Linked DNA regions of Homo sapiens: region 2 is linked to region 1. Evidence: promoter capture Hi-C in human tissues and cell types (Jung and others, 2019). All regions are on one chromosome and are shown on one strand. The core of a region is centred on a gene start or on the middle of the fragment in contact, and the rest is flanking DNA. Distances in the headings are between cores, read along the strand shown.

What was found. The method cuts DNA at HindIII sites, captures the fragments that hold promoters and counts their contacts. A contact is called where the count stands out against the background at its distance.
Region 2: a fragment that was not itself captured here is called in contact with the fragment with the promoter of HSPB7 in region 1 in 1 of the 25 tissues and cell types used here (IMR-90 fibroblasts).

Annotation. Positions count from the first base shown.
Region 1 is chr1:16,015,857-16,020,788 of GRCh38, reverse strand. HSPB7 (heat shock protein family B (small) member 7) reads left to right here and starts at 2,746. Exons shown (of 3, transcript NM_014424.5): 1 at 2,746-3,024; 2 at 3,582-3,715. The coding sequence starts at 2,826. RefSeq lists enhancers at 2,453-3,197, 3,198-3,944. The HindIII fragment of the contact is 13,638 bases long and covers 1-4,932 here.
Region 2 is chr1:16,381,600-16,386,232 of GRCh38, reverse strand. All of the region lies in intron 1 of SZRD1 (SUZ RNA binding domain containing 1), which reads right to left. Among named protein-coding and RNA genes, the nearest start is that of SZRD1, 17 kb to the right of the region's middle. RefSeq lists enhancers at 1-151, 152-652. The HindIII fragment of the contact is 7,164 bases long and covers 1-4,633 here.

The DNA of each region.
Region 1 (4,932 bases), core at 1,497-3,996:
CCACCCTCTGAAGCTTATGATAGCCCTTGGATGATTGTTAAAATCTGGGACCCTGGGCCACCCTTTGCCCCTAGATGCCAGGCAAGTCAAATCAAAATCAAAGATGTGTGTTGTGGGAGGTGGGATGGGAGTTGCCGCTCTGTATGGACTCGAGCCCACCTTCACCTTGGCCACCCCGACCTGTTGACTCTGCACAGCACCAGAACTGGCTGCCCTGTCAACATCCCGATTTCCAGTGTCTGGTCTGGGGCAGCTGCTGGCTACTGTCCCACAGCCAGCACTGCACGTCCACATCTACCCTCACCCCCCAGCCCTGTGTGCACCAGGAGGCTGAGAAGAGGGCAGCCAGGGTGGCTCAGCAGGATGACCGGTTTGAAGCCAGCACAGCTCTGCTGACCCTAACTCTTTCATCAACTAGAGCCTCAGTTTCCTCTTCTGTATGATGAGGTGAGCCTGGAAGCAGGGGCCTGTCTCTGCCTTATTCATCTCTGAGTCCTTCAGAGCCTAGAACAGTGCCCAGCACCTATTTATAGCAAGGTTTCAATGAATACCTACTGAGTGATGAGGGCTTCATCACTGGCCTATGAGCTGGCTGTGTGGGGAGCTGATGGGAAGAGATGTGAGGTCCCTTCCCCAGATCCCAAATCAAAATCCTGGGGTCCAAGGAAAGGGTCTGTGTTTGTGAAAAGCTCTCCTGGGTGACTGGGATTCAAAGGACTGCATCATCTTTGTAGCTCCTTCTGTCTCTGTGATCTGAAGGTAGAGGCAGGGGAATGTCCTTGATGACCTTTTGAGGTCCCTCTGGGTCAGTGAAGCCAGAGGATCCAGTATTTGTGTGGGTGATGCCTCGGGAAGGGGGAAAAAGGGGAGGAGGAATGGTGGGCGGGGGTGGGTAACGGGATCTGACATCCAGGGGCAGTGACTCAGGCCCTCAGCACCATGACAGTGTGTCTGCATTTAGCCACCGGCTCCTGTTTCCCTGGCGAGCGGCAGGCTCTGGGCCCCCCACCCCGCCCCACCCTCTCTCCATCTCACCTCAGTGCTGGTGGCTTCCCAGCTGCCCTAGAAACCCCTCAGCCAGGCTGGGTGTCACAGGCCCCGACACGGGCAGGAAACTCTGCCAGAGGCAACAGGCCCTGTTGCTCCAGGCAACAGCCTGGCCCGCCGCTGTGCCCTGTGCCCTGCTCTGCTTCCACTCCACATACCACCAGCACCGCTAATACCCCTGTAGAAGGAGCTCTCCAGGATGAAGCTCCAGACTGGGTTGTAGGGGGCTCAGACAAAAGAGAAACTGCCCGTCTTCAAGAACCTTCAATCTAATGGGGAGACAGGTGAACCCTCGCCCCCGTGGGAACTGCCAGTTGGATAGGGAAGAAGGGACACAGCAGAGAGTCACAGCACACAGGAAGACTATGTCACACTGCCAGGTGCTGTGGGAGGACAAAGACAGTCAGTGCTGGGGGCATCTGGACTGGGTGTGGGCCCATGTGAGCAGGAGCAGTCAGAGAGGCCTCCCTGGGGGAGGAGGCATTGGAGCTGATCTGGGACGGAAGGGACGGATTTGGAGAGGACAGCAGAGGCCCTTAACTGCAACCTGGGCAGAGCAGAGGGCCTGGCCGCCTCTCAGAATGGCCTCCACCCTGGCCCAGGGCAAGGTCAGTCCCAGCTTTGCTGAGCAAGCAGGTGGGTAGGGAGGGGCTTCTCTGGCTCTTCCGGGCCAGCCTGTCTCCATAGGCACATGTTCAAACCACCTCGGCCTCTGAAGGGCTTTGGGTCCAACACATCTAGGTTCGAATCCCAGCTCTGCCACTTACGCAACTGCGAGCCCCGCCCTTTCCAAGAGGCTTCGCTTCCCCGTCCGTAACATGGGAAGAGCCCCTCCACCCTCCCAGCTGTGTGGGGATCAAACGGGGCCGTGCTGGACAGCTTGCAGCCAGGAGCCCATGCCCAGAAGGCATTCTAGAACTCAGGGCTAGAATAATTGTCTTCCGGAATTCTCTTTTACCTCTGACTGAAATCCCACCTAAGGCGCTCGCAGGCATCACCTCTGACACAGAGATGGAGCAGACAGTTGCCGGGAACACAACCTTCTAGACCTTTAAGGAGAAAGCTGCCAACTTTGTCCTCTTGGGGCTGCTGAATGTTCTGAGAGTCAGAGGGAGTGCAGGCACAGAATCCAGGTCCCCATGGGGGCTGGCAGGGGACAGCTGCACATTTTACACCCCCTGGCAGGGCTCAACCTTTCCTTAGAGATGGGCTGTGAAGGTTGTCTGCCTTGAGGGAAGGAGCTCCTGACGTCACAGAGCGGTGGTGCTTCCACCTACCCTGTCCCCAAGGAGCCTGCACACTGATGGAGGAGGTACAGCCGTGGAGGAGAACCAGAGTCTGGAGGGGAGGCACAGTCCTCAGGAGCCCCCAGGCTGACGGGGGAAACAAAACACACAATAAACCCCAAACTTGCAAGGTTCTGGGGCAGGCACCGAGGTCCGAGTGGCAAGGAGACAGGATCCAGCCCTGTGCAGTGGTGAGGAGGCCCCTGGGGCTGCTGTGATCAGCCTGGAATGTCAGGCTGTGAGCTCAGCCCTCTCGGCCTGCGTGTCGGGCTGTCAGCAGGGCCGGCGCACGGGAGAAGATTTCCAGCCCCCTCTGGGCCATGGAGAGGCCTAAATTTAGCTAGTAGACAAGGGGCTGGCCCCAAGCCCAGGGACAGTCGGCCTTATAAAGCGGCCGCAGTCGGAGCCTGGCACGCTCGCCCAGAGGCCTGCGCCCACACCCTCTCCTGTCCAGCCCTCGCCCGCCTGGGCAGGGCCCGGCGCCGTCCGTGGATGAGCCACAGAACCTCTTCCACCTTCCGAGCGGAGAGAAGTTTCCATTCCTCTTCCTCTTCCTCCTCCTCTTCCACCTCCTCCTCGGCCTCCCGTGCTCTCCCGGCCCAGGACCCGCCCATGGAGAAGGCCCTGAGCATGTTTTCCGATGACTTTGGCAGCTTCATGCGGCCCCACTCGGAGCCCCTGGCCTTCCCAGGCAAGTGATCCGGGCCCTGAGGGGAGGGGAGGTGCACAGGGAGGGGACGTCTGCTCCAGGGCGCCACCGAAGGCGCTGTGGCTGCCGGTCGGCCTGGAACAGGTGCTGCACAGCCTGCAGCCATGTGTGGCCACCAAGACAGATGTGGCCACAGGGACAGATGTGGCCATGAAAACAGGTGGGCCTCTAAGGAACAGTTGTGGCCCTGGGGGTTGGACATGGTTCCATGGCCACCCATGCTCTGTAACCACAGCCAATCCCAGCTGGAGCCCTGGAGGGCTGGATGGGTGAGCGGTGGGGGGCAGCCCCCAGGCTCCAGGCCTGGGGTGGGGTTGTTACAGACCTAGCCTCATATACACACACACTGTGCTGGGTGAGGCCCCACCCCCACCCCAGAAAAGGTGGGCTGTAGGAATGAGGAGGAGCTTAGGGAGAAACAGCTAGGGGGGAGGTAGGGCCTGGGGGAGCCGCCCCTTGCCCCAAGAGAAGGAGCCAGAACCCCCGGATCTGCATGCAAGGCCTGCTCCATGCCTCGCTCACAGCAGCCCATCCCACAGCCCGCCCCGGTGGGGCAGGCAACATCAAGACCCTAGGAGACGCCTATGAGTTTGCGGTGGACGTGAGAGACTTCTCACCTGAAGACATCATTGTCACCACCTCCAACAACCACATCGAGGTGCGGGCTGAGAAGGTGAGCCCCCCACCCCCTACTCACCGCATCCCAAATTCTGCTCCTGCCTCCAATGTCTCCTACTCCCCCTTACCATCCTGGGACCCCAGACCCTGGCCAGTGTCCCTTCCCCACCCAAACTCCCCCAGGGCTAACTGAAGGCCTTGTCCCTGCAACCCATGGCCATGGGGCCCCCTCACTGCCTCTCTTTGCACCGAGGTTCCCAGATCCTTTCTTCCAGGGCCTGAGCAGCTGAGGGAGCCTCCGAGGAATGGGAGAGGGATGGAGGGATGTGGGCAGAGGGAGCCTGAGGGGGTGGGGCTTGAGGGTGGGAGATGACAGGTGTGAGATGGTGATGGCAGAGTGAGGACAGCTCCTCTGGTAGCTATAGGGGGGCGGATGCGGGTAGGTGGGGAACTCACCTGGGCAGTGGGGGGAGGGGTTTCTCCATGTGACCCACCTCAAGCCCTCTTCCCTCCCACAGCTGGAGACCCATCCCCCATCTTGGGACCCCTAAATTAGGCCCGAGGCTGGGCAGGGGCCCTGCAGTTTCGGGTCACACACACTCCAAACCACACACAGCGCCCGCCCACAGGTCTCAGGGTCACTGGGTCTCTAGCGTGTCTGAGTCCGAACTTCTAGGAGGCACTGGGGCCTCCACCCTGGAGAGGGTATGGCCAGGCCTGAACAGGGGCGTTGCCCAGGGACAGCCACGGCTGCCAGGAGAGAGGAGAGGACCTGACCCAAGCCTCCTCCTAAGCCCCCAAGGACTGGCTTCTTCCCCTCCACATTCAAGGGTGGATTTCTGGGCGTCCCTGCCAGGGATGCCATGGACTGGGGGCACCAAAACCCACAGGCAGCATGTGCCAGCCCTGCCACCCCCAACAGTGACTCAGCCGCCCCAAACTCCCCTGGACACTATGTGCTGGCTGAGTTGCGGGGGAGGGGCCGGCGCTCAGCCCTGGCGGGCAGATGCCCAATGTGCCCGGGGATCCAGGAAGGCACGGCTCTCCTCTGTCACCTCCACGTTCCCCAGGAGCCCCAGATTCGGAGCCACTGCCACGGAGCCTCCTCTCTCTCCAAGCCCCACCTCTTCCCCATGTCCCTGGCCTGTTCCTTGGAGCTACTGGAGCTCTGCGAAGCACCCCTGCGCTGTCCCTGCAGAGCCTTTGGCCTGTGGCCATCACCACCCTGGGCAGCCCCTCGGCACCTGAGGGCAGAGCCCCTCGGCATGTGGG
Region 2 (4,633 bases), core at 1,803-4,302, 370 kb before region 1:
CACAAGGCAAGTGCTAGGGCACAAGCATACCACACAGGGCGGTGGCCAGGAAAGTGATCTCCTATGGCTCCTGCTCCTGGAAAGGCTCTTCAGCCAAGTAGCACCAAGCAGCCCACAGAAGGTGACATTCTGTGTTCCGGGTCCAAATCCTAAGCAAAAGATCTACTGTTGCCAAACCTTGACATCACTTGTCCTATGAGGCTACACATCTACAGAAATGGGACACAAGCTTCTCGGTCTCAGAGAACAAGCAAAGCCAGAAGGAAAGAGCGGAGGCAGGAAATCATGAAGAAGCACAGTGGGGAGGAAGGTGGTTCTCGACAGGGCTGGTCCTTTATGGGAGGTAAAGGAGAGCCACAACCACAAGGTGAATGGGATCAGATGTCAACATTTGCAATTTTAACTCACCAGAGGAGGAAGCTCAGCTTCACTGGCTGCTGATGCCCTTAACCTTGCTATAAATGTGCCTCTGGCTGAAAAGTTAGGGTATGGGACCTAGGAGTACAATGCGGATAAGATCATTCCCAAGGAGGAGAGCAGGGAAGGGGTCACCTCAAACAACCCAGTTTGTTACTGTCACAAGCTACAAAAGGAACAAAGGTGACAAAAGATAGGGATGTGTCTGTAAGGTGAAGCAGATTACAGTGGTAGGTTTACTCCTGTAACGTTAAGAGGTCGATGACAAGGAAAAAAGAAAGGTGAGAAAGGCAGAGGAGAGGAAGAAATAGGCTATTCTGGGTCTTAGTGTAAAGCACAGCAAGTATAAGCACCATTACAGTTGTACCTTCTCAGGTACGAATGTTTACACAACAGCCTGGGGTGATGATGCCCTGGGGGACTGATTCGAACTAGCCAAGCTCACAAGAGACAAAGTGAACAAACTCACACCTGTTACACTACAAGGGTCAGAGGGGGTGTCTCACCCTTTCTGGTGCCTGATCTGCTGCTACCCACTCCCCAAGGACAGCAGGCCTCCCCACTCTGTGCCTCAGTATACAAGCCAAAAGACTGTACTGTCCTACTCCATCACAGCATCCCTCTCTCTGAGAACCGGAATCCTCTGGTCTCCAGTGTCACCAACACGACTCCCAAGAAATAGAGCAATCTTATATTGAACAGAGATCTAAGAGGGACCCTTGCTTTGGACTTTGAATTAGAAAATACTCTTTTATTGGCAACAAGGTTACCATTTAAGTAACTTTTCCCAAATGATTTGCCTTTCTCTGTTAGTTTTCATTTCAGAAGATGACATTTCCAATGTTTCTCTCAAATTCAAAGAATAACAACTGGCCTTGAGCTCCCTATGAATCGCTGCCCCACAGGGTCCTCTGGTCTCATCCTGAATCAGGGTGCACAAGTCTACAAGTGGACCCGGGGAGATCTGAAGAAGAGACAGGAACCTGGAGAGCACAACAGATTTCTCCCAGAATCAGGGTCCCACAGGCCCTGAGTAACACAAAAAGCAAAGGGCAAAGAAAAAAGCAAAGAGAAGAAATAAGGGATAGCAGGCGAGACTACCTTCCAACCTGTTCCGGCCCTGAACTCCCACACAGCCAGCCACGGCCCATGCTAGCCTTATGTCTTCAGGCCTTGGGAGGGACACTGGCGCCCAGGTCCCTGGGCTACAGGGTCTCCTGGTGGACCAGTCTCCCCTGCAAGGGGTCTTGTTTCCCATACCACAAATATGGATGGGATTCTGATTCCTTGGGAATCAGAATTCCCAATTTCACTTGGGAATACAGTCAAAGAATTCACAGGTAGAAGCAATCTACAACAGCAAAATCTGGTCTAAAACTATCAGATAAAAATGTCTCCCGCATCATTAGCCATTTCTTTTTCCCTTTTTTTTTTTTTTTTGGTGGAGACGGGGTCTTGCTATGTTCTCCAGGCTGCTCTTGAACTGTGGGCTCAAGTGATCCTCCCACCTCACTCTCCCAAAGTACTGGGATTATGTGTGAGCCACTGTGCCTGGCCACTGGCCATTTCAAGTTCAGATGTACAATCCATGGACTTCTCCAAACAACCTCCATGTTGATTTAATTCTGTTTCGTCTCTGCCTTGTTTCCATCAGTAGCATAGCAGTGACAGTGTCCTGGCCTGGTATGACTAGGACTGGCCACCTCCAATGCTCCTGTAATTATTCTACTTCCCCTGACTAATCCCAGAGAGGGACACACCCCAAGTCCTATCACCCCAGGTTTGATTTTACAGGGATGCTTCACATATTTTTAAACAATTCACGTATTTTAAAATAATAATCATGTTACAATTATACTATTTTGGACATACTGAGTTAAATTAAAAATATTAAAACTGGCCAGCCGCGGTGGCTCACGCCTGTAATCCCAGCACTTTGAGAGGCCCAGGCGGGCGGATCACGAGGTCAGGAGTTCCAGACCAGCCTGGCCAACATGGTGAAACCCTATCTCTACTAAAAATACAAAAATTAGCCAGGCGTGGTGGCGCATGCCTGTAATCCCAGCTACTCAGGAGGCTGAGGCAGGAGAATCGCTTGAACCCAGGAGGCAGAGGTTGCAGTGAGCTGAGATTGCACCACTGCACTCCAGCCTGGGCAACAGAGCAAGACTCTGTCTAAAAAAAAAAAAAAAGGAAAAAAAGAAAGAAAGAAAAGAAAAAAAAAGAAAAAAATTAAAATTAATTTCATCTGTTTCTTTGTACTTTTAAAATGTTGCTTCTAGAAAATATAAAATTAAGGCTGAGGCAGTGGCTCATGCCTGTAATCCCAACACTTTGGGAGGCTGAAAGAGGAGAATTGCTTGAAACCAGGAGTTCAAGACCAGCCTGGACAAGAAAGTAAGACCTCAACTCTACAAAAAATAAAAAATTAGCTGGGCATGGTGGCACACACCTGTAGTCCCAGCTACTTGGGAGGCTGCTGAAGTGGGAGGATTGCTTAAGTCCAAGAGTTTGAGGCAGCAGTGAGCTATGATTGTGCCATTGCACTCCAGGTGCATGACAGAGTGGGGCCCCACCTCGAAAGAAAAGAAAAAAAAAAGGAAAGAAGCAAGCAAGAAGGAAGGAAGGAAGGAAGGAGAGAAAGAAAGAAAGAAAAGAAAAAGAAAATATAAAATTACCCATGTGTCTTTGGGAGGCCGAGGTGGGTGCATCACCTGAGGTCAGGAGTTCCAGACCAGCCTGAGCAATATGGTGAAACCCTGTCCCTTCTAAAAATACAAAAATTAGCCGGACGTGGTGGCGGGCACCTGTAATTCCAGCTACTCAGGAGGCTGAGGCAGGAGAATCGCTAGAACCCGGGAGGCGGAGGTTGCAGTAAGCTGAGATTGCACCATTGTACTCTAGCAGGGGGGAGAGAGTGAGACTCCGTCTCAAAAAAAAAAAAAATTATCCATGTGGCTCACATTGTACCTTCTGTTGGACAACACTGCTTTAGAGTCTAACCTTAGAAGATGGGTCCCGACTCGGCACAGTGGCTCACGCCTGTAATCCCAGAACTCTGGGAGTGCCGAGGCTGGCGGATCACCTGAGGTCAGGAGTTTAAGACCAGCATAGCCAACATGGTGAAACCCTGTCTCCACCAAAAGTGCAAAAATTAGCCAGGTGTGATGGCGCATGCCTGTAATCCCAGCTGCTCGGGAGACTGAGGCAGGAGAATCGCTTGAACTCGGGAGGGGGAGGTTGCGGTGAGCTGAGATTGTGTCACTGCACTCCAGCCTGGGTGACAGAGTGAGACTCCATTAAAAAAAAACAAAAAAAAAAACCATGTGGCCAGGCGCAGTGGTTCATGCCTGTAATCCCAGCATTTTGGGAGGCCGAAGTGGGCGGATCACCTGAGATCAGGAGTTCCAGACCAGCCTGGCCAACATGGTGAAACCCTATTTCTACTAAAAACATAAAAATCAGCTGGGCACAGTGGCGTGCACCTGTAGTCCCAGCTACTCAGGAGGCTGAGGCAGGAGAATCGCTTGAACCCGGGAGGCGGAGGCTGCAGTGAGCTGAGATCGGGCCACTGCACTCCAGCCTGGGCGACAGACAAGACTCCATCTCAAAAAAGAAAAAAAAAACCCACCCATGCTAGCCCCTGCTCAGCACCCTCTCCTGGTGCTATTTTGAGGTGATATCCATCTTGGCCTACGGGTCTCTACTAAATCTGGCTGTCCACTACCTCTGACCTCATCTCCTACCACTCTCCCCTATCAAGCATGGCCACCACATTGGCCCCACTGTTCAAGACAAAACAATCATGCTCCAGCCTCTGGGCCTTAGCATTTGCTGTTCCCTCTGCCTAGAACGCACTTCAACCAGCTTCTTTCTTTTTGGTTTTGTTTTGCAATGGAGTCTTGCTCTGTCGCCCAGGCTGGAGTGCAGTGGCACGATCTCAGCTCACTGCAACCTCCACCTCCTGGGTTCAAACCTGCCTCAACCTTCTGAGTAGCTGGGATTACAGGCGCCTGCCACCACACCCGGCTAATTTTTGTATTTTTAGTAGAGACAGAGCTTCACCATGTTGCCCAGGCTGGTCTTGAACTCCTGACCTTAGGTGATCCGCCTGCTTCAGCCTCCCAAAGTGCTGAGATTACATGGGTGAGCCACCGCACTCGGCCTTCAACGAGCTTCTAAGCAGCTTGTTGCTGCACTTCTTTTAAATCTCTCT